2 separate regions of the Homo sapiens genome follow, and region 2 is linked to region 1. Evidence: promoter capture Hi-C in human tissues and cell types (Jung and others, 2019). All regions are on one chromosome and are shown on one strand. Each heading gives the region's core, a stretch centred on a gene start or on the middle of the fragment in contact. The rest is flanking DNA. Distances are from core to core; before and after follow the strand shown. Region 1 holds the start of OR7D4 (olfactory receptor family 7 subfamily D member 4). Region 2 overlaps LOC124904635 (a long non-coding RNA gene).

Region 1 (6,625 bases), core at 2,936-5,435:
ATTTGTATCTATGAACTTAAATCAATTTCTTCTTTGGTGTGAATCTTCCAAAATAATTAAAGGTATGTCATGTCTTTTCCTCGATAATCCCCATGCTTCCTTCATTCTAATAGATGTACAATAGTTATTAAGTTGTGGATTTTCAACCCAAACAACCTTTATTCTGTGACCCAGTGCTTGGAAGTGATGTGACAGTTAACTCTCAGGGCTTTCTTCCTTCCTTAAAATTAAATTATTGATATTACTTTCTTATTGAGGTTTAAAAATGCCATATGCACGGTAGGAATATCAACAAATGATAGCTATCATTACTGCTACTATTACTATTAATCTTATTAATCTTTTCCTTTTATGATAATTACTTAGATATATAACTCTTCCAAGGTATAGCATAGAGCTGTGATTTGGAAAATATTTTCTGAAATCAGACTTTTTAGAATAAAATTCTGATCCATGCATTAGTCTGTTTTCACTCTGCTGATAAAGACATACCTGAGACTGGGCAATTTACAACAGAAAGATGTTTAATGGACTTACAGTTCCACGTGGCTGGGGAAGCCTTATAATCACGGTGGAAGGCAAGGAGGAGCAAGTCACATCTTACATGGATGGTGGCAGGCAAAGAGAGAAAGCTTGTGCAAGGAAACTCCCCCTTATAGAACCATAAGATCTCATGAGACTTACTCACTATCTCAAGAACAGCATGGGAAAGACCTGTCTCCATGATTCAATTTCCTCCCACTGGGTCCCTCCCATTACACATGGGAATTCAAGATGAGATCTGCCACCCCCTGCACCCCACAGTCATCATGAACTCCTGCCTCTGTGGCCTCCTTGTTCTGGCATCTTGATTTATCATTTTCTGGGTCTCCCTGGTTCATGTTCTTCTGATGAAGAGGTTGACCTTCTCTATAGGCACTGAAATTCCACATTTCTTCTGTGACCTGCCTCTGGTTCACTGTGTAGGGACACAGCCAAACTATGTGAATCCACCAACTTACTACTGTATACCATAGAGAAAGTTATTTGAACTGTCTTAGCTGCAGCTACCTCACCTCCATAGTAGGAGTAGTAAATACTCCCTATGTGGGAATATTGAAGAGTGAAATTAAATGAGATTATCCATGTCATTTGTCTACTATGATTTCTGTGTCATACAATGGATATTTCACACATATGAACTTTTGTTCTTTTGCTTTTTTTTTTGAGACAGAGTCTCACTCTGTTGACCAGGCTGGAGTGCAGTGGTGCAATGTTGGCTCACTGCAACCTCTGCCTCCTGGGTTCAAGTGATTCTTGTGCCTCAGCCTCCCAAGTAGCTGGGACCACAGGCATGCACCACCATGCCCAGCTAATTTTTCTATTTTTAGTAGAGATGGGGTTTCACCATGTTGGCCAGGTTGGTTTTGAACTCCTGGGCTCAAGTGATCCACCCACCTTGGCCTCCCAATGTGCTGAGATTACAGGCATGAGCCACTGTGCCCAGCCTGAACTTTTGTTTTTAACATTACAATAAATCTGTCTTTCATGGCTATCATTTATCAATATCAATATCCCCCTTACATGGGGCAGCCATCAAGGATGGAATTCTGATCACTGTGAATACAACAGGTCTGTTACGTCTTGTGACCACCACACAGGACTCTCAACTCATGAAGATCCCTATGCTTCCCTGCTTCAGAGAATGTCTGCCCAGTGTATTCCTCCAAGAAGTAACAAAAGCCTGTGGACTACATACACAAGATGAGAAAAGAAAGGGACACCGCCATTAGAATCAAAGACAAGGCCTGAGAGAATGTGTGCTTGTGTACACATGCAGTTGAGTGGGAATGTTGGACTAATATCAGGGCAATGAATTGCCAAGAAATGTGACTGATAAGTTTGATATAAAAATTTAAAAATTTCTATAAATCAAATCATCCTAAAAAACTAAAGGGCAACTTTGAGGTTTGAAAAAAAATTTGCATTTTTCATGATGGAAAAAAGGTTGTTACTATTTATGCCTAGAGAATGTTGATTAATTAAAGATGGAAAAATAATCACTGAAGACCAACTTTAGTCCTGGAAAGTGGATAGAAGAGGCTTCTCTGAGATAGGAAAATTTGGGCTGAGAGAGGAAGAATGGATCATTGGTTTGTTTGTTTGTTTGTTTGGAGATGGAATCTCGATCTGTTGCCCAGGCTGGAGTATAGTGGTGCTATCTCTGTTCACTGCAACCTCTGCCTCCCAGGTTCAAGCGATTCTCCTGTCTCAGCCTCCTGAGTAGCTGGGATTACAGGTGTGTGCCACTACGCTCAGCTAATTTTTTTATTTTTAGTAGAGACAGGGTTTCACCTTGTTAGCCAGGCTGGTCTCGAACTACTGACCTCAAGTGATCTGCCCACCTCGGCCTCCCAAAATGCTGGGATTACAGACATGAGCTACTGCACCTGGCCGGATCATTGTTAATTAGGGGAAGTAAGGAAAGGAAAGGGTAAATCTTCTAGGCTGACAGAAGAGAATTCGAGATTGTCCCATGGGTCATTGAGCTTGTAAAGGAAGGGATTTGAGATGCCAGTGAGATGGGGAGCAGGGAATGAAAGCGGGATATGTATTTGATGACTAGAAATAGAACATCCTATATTCTTCCTCCTTGTCCCTTTCACATTGGTCAACTTATATTTAGTTTTAGACAGTGGTTGCGATTGTTTTGTCTCATCATTTAACAAGGATTTACGTGGTGCCCAGCACATTACTGATTCTGAGCAAGTACAAATTGAAATGTTCTATAAAGACTGGGACCAAAGCATCAACTATAACACAAAATAGAAATCTTCAAGTTTAAGACATGTTTGAATATAGACATAAATTTAATAATACAGTAAATAACATATTCATATCTCTTTTAAAATAATGATAAATGAAGTAGTAATACCAGCTCTAACAATGGAAGCAGGTTTAATGTAAGAATGTCTGCATAATTCATCACAAAAACAGGTCAGTAAAGAGAAATCATAAACAAAATCACAATAGAAAAAATGCATTTGAAAAAGATTATCAACCAGGGCAGATCCTCTCAATAAAGGAAGAAACCAAGGACAATTGCTTAACCCGATAAACAATGGTTGTTTTAATACCACAGGCAACAAGATATGCTATGTTAAAACAGTAAGGGGTTTAAATTCCTGGATACACCAAAGGCCGTCTACTACAATTTCAATCTTTTGATATTTTGGTGAACATGCAAATGGATTTTTTTTTGGGGGGGACATGGTGTCACTTTGTCACCTGGGCTGGAGTGCGGGGTGCAGTCTCAGCTTACTGCAACCTCTGCCTCCTGGGTTCAAGCAATTATCCCATCTCAGTCTCCCGAGTAACTGGGATTGCAGGTGTAAGCTAAGGTGTCAGGCTTTCTTTTTTTGTTATTGTTTAGTAGAGACAGGGTTTTGCCATGTTAGCCAGGCTGGTCTCAGGGTCCTGGCCTCAAGTGATCTGCCCGCCTCGGCCTCCCAAAGTGCTGGGATTATAGATGTGAGCCACTACGTTCAGCCAAGGGATTTTTAATATGAGAAAAAAAATTGGACTGCATGTTGAATGTCAGAAATAATTGTATTATTTCTATATGATATCATGGATACTAAGTTGAAATAGCAAAAACATAACAGCTAGTAAGTGCTGTAAATAAGTCACCATCTCCACCACATCAACCCTACCCCCAATCCCCAGACCACTCTGGGTCTGGTAACCAATAATCTGCCAGGAAAAATATAGAATATAATAGAAAAATCCAATCACATTAGGAACACATAGACAATACCTTGAGCATAGTAGATCTTCCGTGAGTAGTTAATGAATAAGTAACTGGATGTACGAAATTCAACAGGAGACTAAAGTTTATAGGAAAGAGTGCAGGAGAGTTAGAGACTGTTCGGAAAATAACTTATTAAAGACGGGCCCTGGATTCCAAGGAGTGAGAACAGAAGGTGGGAGACACTGGTTTCTGTGAAAACTAAAGTACCATCAAAGTACAGGGACTTCACCTTCATAGACTCAATAAGTATGGGACTTTCCAGGCTCATTACTGTGAAGGCTAGTACTTATTCTCTCTCCTCTTTTCCTTCTTACCCCACCAGCCCTCACTGGGTCACACTAACTCTGATGGTTATCACTGAAGTTTTCTCTTCTACACGATCTGTTCCTAGGAAGCCGTACTGGGTTTTTTCCAAAGGCTGGGAGCAGAGAATTACAGGTGAGGTTGTTTAAACAGGGGCACATTTTAAGTTTCCAGTGTCTCAAGAGTTGAATTCTCAGAGCACCTTATTAAATAAATTGTTCTATTTTCTTCCCACTCTCCAAAGAGTTTGGCTCCCTTTGAGTAGTAAGAAGATGATAGAATGGAAATTTTTCAGTTAATTTTGTGATGAAATAGGCAGTGGTAGGGCATGATGGATTTATTTCCCCCAAGAAGAAATTCTTTCTTCGGTTTAATTTGAAAGTCACAAGTTTTGCCCTAAGGAAAGATTAATTTCTGCAAGGAACTAAACTCAGGAATCATCTCCAAGCGATGTGACTCCCTTGAAGAGTCTTTGGAGATTTTATGGATCCCTCGGTGTTGAAAATTCATGGAAACAAAAATGTCTTTTCTTTTTAAATATTTTTTCAAATTATTTTTATATATTTTTTTAAATTATAGAATTATATGTATGTATCATGTACAACTTGATATTTGGAAATATATATACATTGTGGACATTCAATGTATCTAATTAACATACGCATTATCTCACAGAGTCGTTATCCTGGTGAGAACACTTAATATCCACTCTCTTAGCATTTTCAAAGAATATCATATATATCATCATTAACTAAAGTCATCCTGCTGTACAATAGATCTCTTGAACTTACTTCTCTTATATAGCTGTAATTTTGTATTCTTTTACTAACATCTCCACAACACCAACACTACTCCTCAACCCCAAACCACTCTGGGTCTGGTAACCAACATTCTACTTCTTTGAAATCTGGATTCTATTTCTCTGAGATCACCTTCGTTAGATTCCACATATGAGTGAGATCATGTGATATTTGTCTTTCTGTGCCTCCCTTATTTCACTTAACACAATGTTCTCTGAGTTCATCCATGTTGCAAATGACAGGATTTCCTTGTGTTTTATGGATGAATCATATTCCATTGTGTATATATACTACATTTTCTTTATCCATTCATTTATTTGCAGACAACTAGGTTGATTCTGTGTCTTGGCTACTGTGAATAATGCTCCAATAAACATGGGAGTGCGATATCCCTTCCACACACTGACTTCGTTTCTTATTGATATATACCCAGTAGTGGACTGCTGGATCATATGGTAGTTCTATTTTTAAGTTTTTGAGGAACCTCCATACTCTTTTCCATAATGGTTGTACTAATTTACATTCCTACCAACAGTGTAGAAGGGTTTCCATTTCTTCATATCCTGGCCAGCACTTACTATCTTTTGTCTTTTTAGTAATAGCCATTTGAGATGAAGTGAGGTGATATCTCATTGTGGTTTTCATTTGCATTTCCCTGATGATTAGTGAAGTTAAACCTTTTAAAAATGTATGTTGGGCCGGGCGCAGTGGCTCACGCCTGTAATCCCAGCACTTTGGGAGGCCTAGACGGGCGGATCACAGGGTCAGGCGATCGAGACCATCCTGGCTAAAGGTGAAACCCCGTCCCTACTAAAAATACAAAAAATTAGCCGGGCGTGGTGGCGGGCGCCTGTAGTCCCAGCTACTTGGGAGGCTGAGGCAGGAGAATGACTTCAACCCGGGAGGGGGAGCTTGCAGTGAGCCGAGATCGCGCCACTGCACTCCAGCCTGGGTGACAGAGCGAGACTCGTCTCAAGAAAAAAAAAATGTATGTTGTCCATCTGTGTGTCTTCTTTTGACAAATGTCTTTCAGGTCTTTTGCCCTTTTTTTTTTTTTTTTTTTTTTTTTTTTGAGACGGAGTCTCGCTCTGTCACCCAGGCTGGAATGCAGTGGCGCGATCTCCGCTCGCTGCAAGCTCCGCCTCCCGGGTTTACGCCATTCTCCTGCCTCAGCCTCCCGAGTAGCTGGGATTACAGGCGCCTGCCACGACGCCCGGCTACTTTTTTGTATTTTTAGTAGAGACGGGGTTATCACCGTGTTAGCCAGGGTGGTCTCGATCTCCTGACCCCGTGATCCGCTCTCCTCTGCCTCTCAAAGTGCTGGGATTACAGGCGTGAGCCACCGCGCCAGGCTGTCTTTTGCCCATTTTAAAATTGGGTCGTTTTCTTCCTACTGAGTTGTTTGAGCTTCTTACGTATTTTGGATATTAGCCCCATATCACATGTCTAGTTTGCAAATATTTTCCTCCATTCTGTAGTTTGTCTCTTCACTCTACTGTTTCCTTTGCTGTGTGGAGATTTTTAGTTTAATGTAATTCCATTTGTCTATTGCTTTTGTTGTCTGTGCTTCAGAGGTCATATCCAAAAAAATCACTGCTCAGACCACTATCATGAGGTTTTCCTCTTTTGTTATTTTCTAGCTTTTCTATTTTAGGTTTTACATTTAAGACTTTAATCCATTTTGAATGGATTTTCGTATATAGTGTGAAGTAAATACCTAATTTCATTCTTC
Region 2 (6,625 bases), core at 2,290-4,789, 580 kb after region 1:
GGGATTTCACTGTGTTAGCCAGGATGGTCTCAATCTCCTGACCTCGTGATCCGAGCACCTTGGCCTCCCAAAGTGCTGGGATTACAGGCGTGAGTCACTGCACCCGGCCAAGATGGGGTTTTATCATGTTGACCAGGCTGGTCTTGAACTCCTGACCTCAGGTGATCCACCTGCCTCAGCCTCCCAAAGTGCTAGGATTATAGGTGTGAGCCACTGTGCCCAGCCAATTTTCGTACTTTTAGTAGAGACGAGGTTTGACCATGTTTGCCAGGCTGGTCTGGAACTCCTGACTTCAGGTTATCCGTCCACCTCAGCCTCCCAAAGTGCTGGGATTACAGGTATGATGAAAATGCTTTTTCAAGTGATAACTTTCCAATAGGGAAGGAAGGTTTAAAGGTAAGTTTCAAAAAGCACCTGCTTGAGATGAAATGTAATACCATAGGTCTCCAGAAGACAACAGCGCATCACTTGGTTTGCCTTATAAATCCTTAATTCTCAAAACACAGGAATTAAGAGAAACAGCGAACATTTGTAGACCTCTTCACCCTTCGTTAGGGGGAAAGTGAAAATAACTATTTGCTGGGCATCTCTTGTTCTTTTCTATTTTTATTATTTTAATTGATGTCCCATTCCAGGATGTTGGGCATCTATTGTTTCATCTGGACACTATTTTATATCTGTGATCTACTTTATTTATTTATTTTCCTTTTTTTTTTTTTAAGAGACGGAGTCTCCCTCTGTTACCCAGGCTGGAGTGCAGTGGTGTGATCTTGATTCACTGCAAACTCCGCCTTCCGAGTTCAAGCAATTCTCCTGCCACAGCCTCCCGACTAGCTGGGATTACAAGCACGCACCACTATGCCCGGATAACTTTTTGTATTTTTAGTAGAAACGAGGTTTCACCGTGTTAGCCAGGCTGGTCTCGAACCCTTGACATCAAGTGATCCGTCCGCCTCGGCCTCCCAAAGTGCTGGGATTACAGGCGTGAGCCACCGTGCCCGGCCTATTCATTTTTCTTTTTTCTATTTCTTTTTTTTTTTATATAGAGAAGGAGTCTCAGTCTGTCACCCAGGCTGGAGTGCAGTGGCGCCATCTCGGCTCACTGCAACCTCCGCCTCCCAGGTTGAAGCGATTCTCCTGCCTCAGCCTCCCGAGTAGCTGGGATTACAGGTGTGCACCACCACGCGCAGCTAATTTTTGTATTTTATTGGGTTTTTGGTTTGTTTTGTTTCGTTTGAGACAGAGTTTTGCTCTTGTCGCCCAGGCTGGAGTGCAATGGCACCATCTCGGCTCACTGCAACCTCCGCCTCCCGGATTCAAGCTATTCTGGTGCCTCAGCCTCCCAAGTAGTTGGGATTACAGGCGCCCGCCACCACGCCCAACTAATTTTTTGTATTTTTAGTATAAGCGGGTTTCACAATATTGTTCAGGCTGGTCTCGAGCTCCTGACCTCAGGTGATCCACCCGCCTCGGCCTCCCAAAGTGCTGGGATTACAGGCTTGAGCCATCGCGCCCGGGCTATTTATTTTTCTTTTTTTAATTTTAATTTTAATGTTTCATAGAGACAGGGTCTCCCCATGTTGCCCAGGCTGGTCTAGAACTCCTGGGCTCAAAGGACCCTGCCTCAACCTCCCAAAGTGCCAGGATTACAGGTGTGAGCGACTGCGTCTGGCCTACATTTGTGATTTAAATCAGCACATTTCTCATCTCTCAGAACTCCTCAATAACCATCGGTTGGAAAAAAGAGCAAAAAACCTAAATGTATTTATATGTAATCTCTAGGAGTTAACCTCACCGAAAGATACAACCGATTTAAGAAGAAAATGTTAAAACTCTCTTCAAGGGCCTATAGAAGAAACGGGATGAATGGAAACGTGATTCACTCTGTGGACTGGCAGATACCTCTGGAAATCTGGTGTTCTATTGTAATAAGTTCTCGGGAAGGTAGAGACTTTTATTTGGGACATAGAGGCTTGGCCAACCAGAATGGAGGACCCACCCAAGTCCCGCCCCCAAGCCTGAGCCCTCTCCTTTGCTCCACCCACTCTGCCTGAAGTCCCCTCAACCCCTCCGACTTCGCAGTCTCCCAGCCCGGCCTTCTGGGGCTGGTCTTCATTGGAAGCCACGCCCCCAGGTCTGTCGGATAAACATTTTACAACCTATTCTCTCTGAAGTCTAGTACCTGGAGGCTTCCTCTGGAAATAAGAACTTGGGTCTCCCGCCTGGCCAACATGACGAAACCCCGTCTCTACTAGAAATACAAAAATTAGCCGGTCGTGGTGGCACACACCTGTAATCCTAGCTACTCAGGAGGCTGCGGCAGGAGAATTGCTGGAACCCGGTAGGCGCAGGTTACAGTGAGCTGAGGTCGTGCCACTGCACTCCAGCCTGGGCGACAGAGCGAGACTGCGTCTCCGAAAAAAAAAAAAAAAAAAATTAGCCGGGCATGGTGGCGGGCGCCTGTAATCCCAGCTATTCTGGTGGCTGAGCCAGGAGAATCGCTTGAACCCGGGAGGTGGAGGTTGCAGTGAGCCGAGATGGTGCCATTGCACTCCAGGCTGGGCAACAAGAGCGAGACTCCATCTCAAAAAAGAAAAAAGAAAAAAAAAAAAAAGAACTTGGGTCTCCACAACCTCAAGCCTCCTCTCAAAAAAAGAAAAAAAGTTTTAATCTCCCTATAAGCTGGAATCCCCACTCCCACCCCACCCCAGCTCCCGGTTTGAGCTGTCCTGCCATTCTGGAACAAATGAATGTATTTCTTTTCCTTTTTTTTTTTTTTTTTTTTTGAGACGGTGTCTCGCTCTGTCACCCAGGCTGGAGTGCAGTGGTGCCATCTCCGCTCACTGCAACCTCCGCCTCCCTGGTTCAAGCGATTCTCCTGCCTCAGCCTCCTGAGTAGCTGGGATAACTGGCGCGTGCCACCACACCCGGCTAATTTTGTATTTTTAGTAGAGACGGGGTTTCACCATCTTGGTTAGGCTGGTCTCGAACTCTGACCTCATGTGATCCGCCCACCTCGGCCTACCAAAGGGCTGGGATTACAGGCGTGAGCCACCGCGCCCGGCCAATATATTTCTTAAATGTATTTGATTGAAGTCTCATGTCTCCCTAAAATGTACAAAACCAACTGCACCCCAGTCACCTTGGGCACATGTTCTCCTGGCCTCCTGAGGGCTGTATCACCGGCCATGGTCACTCATATTTGGCTCAGAATGAATCTCTTAAAATATTTTACAGAGTTTGACGCTTTTCGTCGACATTGCTTAGGCTGGCATCGAATTCCTGGGCTCAAGCTGTAATTGCCGGAGGGTTCTTCCTGCCCACTGCATAAAGAAAGACAATGGCATTGTAGTAAAGGAAGAGTTTAGTGGACATGAGGCTGGCCATGCCACGTGGGAGTCGAAGTTCCTACTCAAATCATCTCAAAGCTCCTAGGTTAGGGGTTTTCCAAAGACAGTTTGGGGGAACGGGTGGGGATGGCAGAGTAACAGGTGCTTGCTGCTGATTGGTTGGGGCAGATGCAATCATAGGGGGGTCGAAGCCTTCCTCCTACAGGCTGAATCGATTTTGGGTGGGGCCATAGGAGCAGGGTTGACGGGTCCATGAGGAGTGTTAGGTGTCAGACATGCAATAAAACCTGAAAGGGTATCTCCAAAGGCCAATCTGGGGTTCTGCAATAGTGGTGTTATTTGCAGGAGTAATTGGGGAAGTTGCATATCTCATAACCTCTGGAATAGTGGCTGACATACATTTCTGCGCCTTTGCAGGAATCAGGCTCCTCTCCTGCTGATGGCTCCCCATTAGTTTTACCAAAGCGATTGAGTTTTAGGCAAAGCTTATTATCACCTAAACTATAGCCTAAATGTTTCTTAAAGTTACCTCAGCCCAATAGCCCAGGAAATATTAAGGGAAAGGGAAGATGGGGGGTGGATTGGCTCAGATCTCTTTCACTGTCATAATTTTCTGATATATATTTTTTTGAGACAGGGTCTCACTCTGTTACCCAGGCTAGAGTGCAGAGGTGCAATCACAGCTCACTGCAGCCTCGACCTCCCCAGGCTCAAATGACCTGCCCATTCTGGAGTTCATTCAGCCTCACAAAATGTTGGAATTACAGGCGTGAGCCACCTCGACTGTCCTGATTATTATTTTTGCAAAGGCAATGGTTGACAAAGAGTCAAACTCTGTAAAATATTTGAAGAGATTTATTCTGAGCCAAATATGAGTGACCATGGCCCACGACACAGCCCTCAGGATGTCCTGAGAACATGTGACAAAAGTGGTTGGGGTGCAGCTTGGTTTTATATATTTTAGGGAGACATGAGACATCAATCAAACACATTTAATAAATACATTGGCTTGGTCCAGAAAAGCAGGACAACTCAAAGCAGGAAGCTTCCACGCTATAGGTAAATTTAAACTTTTTTTTTTTTTTTTTTTTTGAGATGGAGTTTCGCTCTTGTTGCCCAGGCTGGAGTGCAATGGTGTGAACTCGGCTCACCGCAACCTCCGCCTCCCAGGTGCAGGCGATTCTCCTGCCTCAGCCTCCCGAGTAGCTGGGATTACAGACATGTGCCACCACGTCCGGCTAATTTTGTATTTTTAGTAGAGACGGGGTTTCTCCATGTTGGTCAGGCTGGTCTCGAACTCCCGACCTCAGGTGATCCGCCTGCCTCTGCCTCCCAGTGTTGGGATTACAGGCGTGAGCCACCGCGCTCGGCCATATGTGCAATTTATTACATGTTAATTATACCTCAGTGAAGCTGTAGGGGCTGGGCATGGTGAGTAGTTCACACCTGTAATCCCAGCACTTTGGGAGGCTGTGGCAGGCAGATCGCTTGAGCCCAAAACTTTGAGACCAGCCTGGGCAATATGGTGAGACCCCATCTCTACAAAAAAAGAAAAATTAGCTGGGCATGGTGGCATGTGCCTATAGTCCCAGGTACTTGTGTGGCTGAGAGGGTAAGGAACACTACAGCCCTGGAGGTCAAGGCTGAGATGAGCCATGATGCGCTCTGGCCTGGGCAACAAAGCAAGACCCTGTCTCGAAAAAAAATTTTTTCTTTTTTTCCTAAAGAATGTGTAGGCCAAGTTAACCCTCCAGACAGGTAAGAATGTGATATGTGTCATAGCCTGTAATTTATACAATAACATCAAGGCTGCTTTGGTCCAAGGGCAGGATCTATGGCGAGTATATGTTCTTACACAAGAACAGTAAATAAAGTAGAAATCCTGGCTGGGTGCAGTGGCTCATGCCTGTAATCCCGGCACTTTGGGAGGCCAAGGTGGGCGGATGGCTTGAGCCCAAGAGTTCAAGACCAGCCTGGGCAACATGACGAAACCCTATGTCTTAAAACAAAAAACAAAAAAAAACAAAAAACCACCAGGCATGGTAGTGTGCACCTGTAGTCTCAATTACTTGGGAGGCTGAGGTGGGAGGATTGCTTCAACCCAGGTGAGGGAGGTTACAGTGAGTCGAGATTGGGCCAGTGCACTCCAGCCTGAGGGACAGAATAAGACTCTGTCTCAAAAAAAAAAAAAAAAAAGTAGGTGGGGCACAGTGGCTCATGCCTGTAATCCCAGCACTTTGGGAGGCCAAGGTGGGTGGATCACCTGAGGTCAGGAGTTTGAGACCAGCCTGACCAACATGGTGATACCCCATTTCTATTAAATACAAAAAATTAGCTGGGTATGGTGGTGGGCACCTGTAATCCCAGCTACTCAGAAGGCTGTGGCAGGAATCTCTTGAACCTTGGGGGCAGAGGTTGCAGTGAGCTAAGATTGCACCATTGCACTCCAACCTGGGCTACAAAAACAAAAACTCCGTCTCAAAAAAAAAAAAAAATCTAGAAATGTTGGAGTTGTTCTCAGGACTTGGGTTAAGCAGAAGTCAAGATGGCAGTTGGCATCCAAGATGGAGTCATGATTGCCTTCACAGCCCCTAATAGGGCCCAGTTACTGGGCCTCCCTTCAGATACTATTGCATGGCAGCATGGCAGCTTTATATCCTGGGCAAGATTGTGGAGTAAAATTACTCAGGTTCTACTTTACCAGCTATGTTGCTTTGGGCAACTTAACTTCTCTGTGCCTCAGTGTCTTCATCTCTACCTCCCTCAGTGGGCTGCTTATAGGAGTCCATGCATGAAGGACTGAGCACAGTGCCTGCCACATAAGAAGCACTCAGTAGGCTGGGTGTGGTGGCTCACGCCTGTAATCTCACCACTTCGGGAGGCTGAGGCAGGAGGATCGCTTGAGCCAAGCAGTTTGAGACCAACCTGGGCAACACAGTGAGACCACGTCTTTACAAAATAATAATAATAATAATTCTTTTTAAAAATTAGCCAGGTGTGGTGGTGCATGCCTGTATTCCCAGCTGCTGGGGAGGATGAGGTGGGAAGATTGCTTGAACCCAGGAGTTCGAGGCTGCAGTGAGCTACAGTCACACCACTGCACTCCAGCTTGGGTGATGGAGTAAGACCATGTCTCAAAATAAATAAATAAAAATAAAATAATAATGTCAGCTATTGTGATTATGCTTTGCCTTCATTGGAGGGCAGTCCTGAAGCCCCCAGCCCCTTATCTGGGAGAAGGCAATGATTAGGGGTGGGGAGGTTCCAAAAGGGGA

What was found. The method cuts DNA at HindIII sites, captures the fragments that hold promoters and counts their contacts. A contact is called where the count stands out against the background at its distance.
Region 2: a contact is called between a fragment that was not itself captured here and the fragment with the promoter of OR7D4 in region 1, in 1 of the 25 tissues and cell types used here (spleen).

Annotation. Positions count from the first base shown.
Region 1 is chr19:9,215,404-9,222,028 of GRCh38, forward strand. It overlaps OR7D4 (olfactory receptor family 7 subfamily D member 4), which reads right to left and starts at 4,186. Exons shown (of 2, transcript NM_001005191.3): 1 at 3,797-4,186. It also overlaps a transcript of OR7E24 not described here and the pseudogene OR7D11P. The HindIII fragment of the contact is 21,358 bases long and covers 1-5,599 here.
Region 2 is chr19:9,800,140-9,806,764 of GRCh38, forward strand. LOC124904635 (a long non-coding RNA gene) reads left to right here. Exons shown (of 3, transcript XR_007067134.1): 3 at 1,783-2,277. Among named protein-coding and RNA genes, the nearest start is that of FBXL12, 16 kb to the right of the region's middle. The HindIII fragment of the contact is 4,629 bases long and covers 1,226-5,854 here.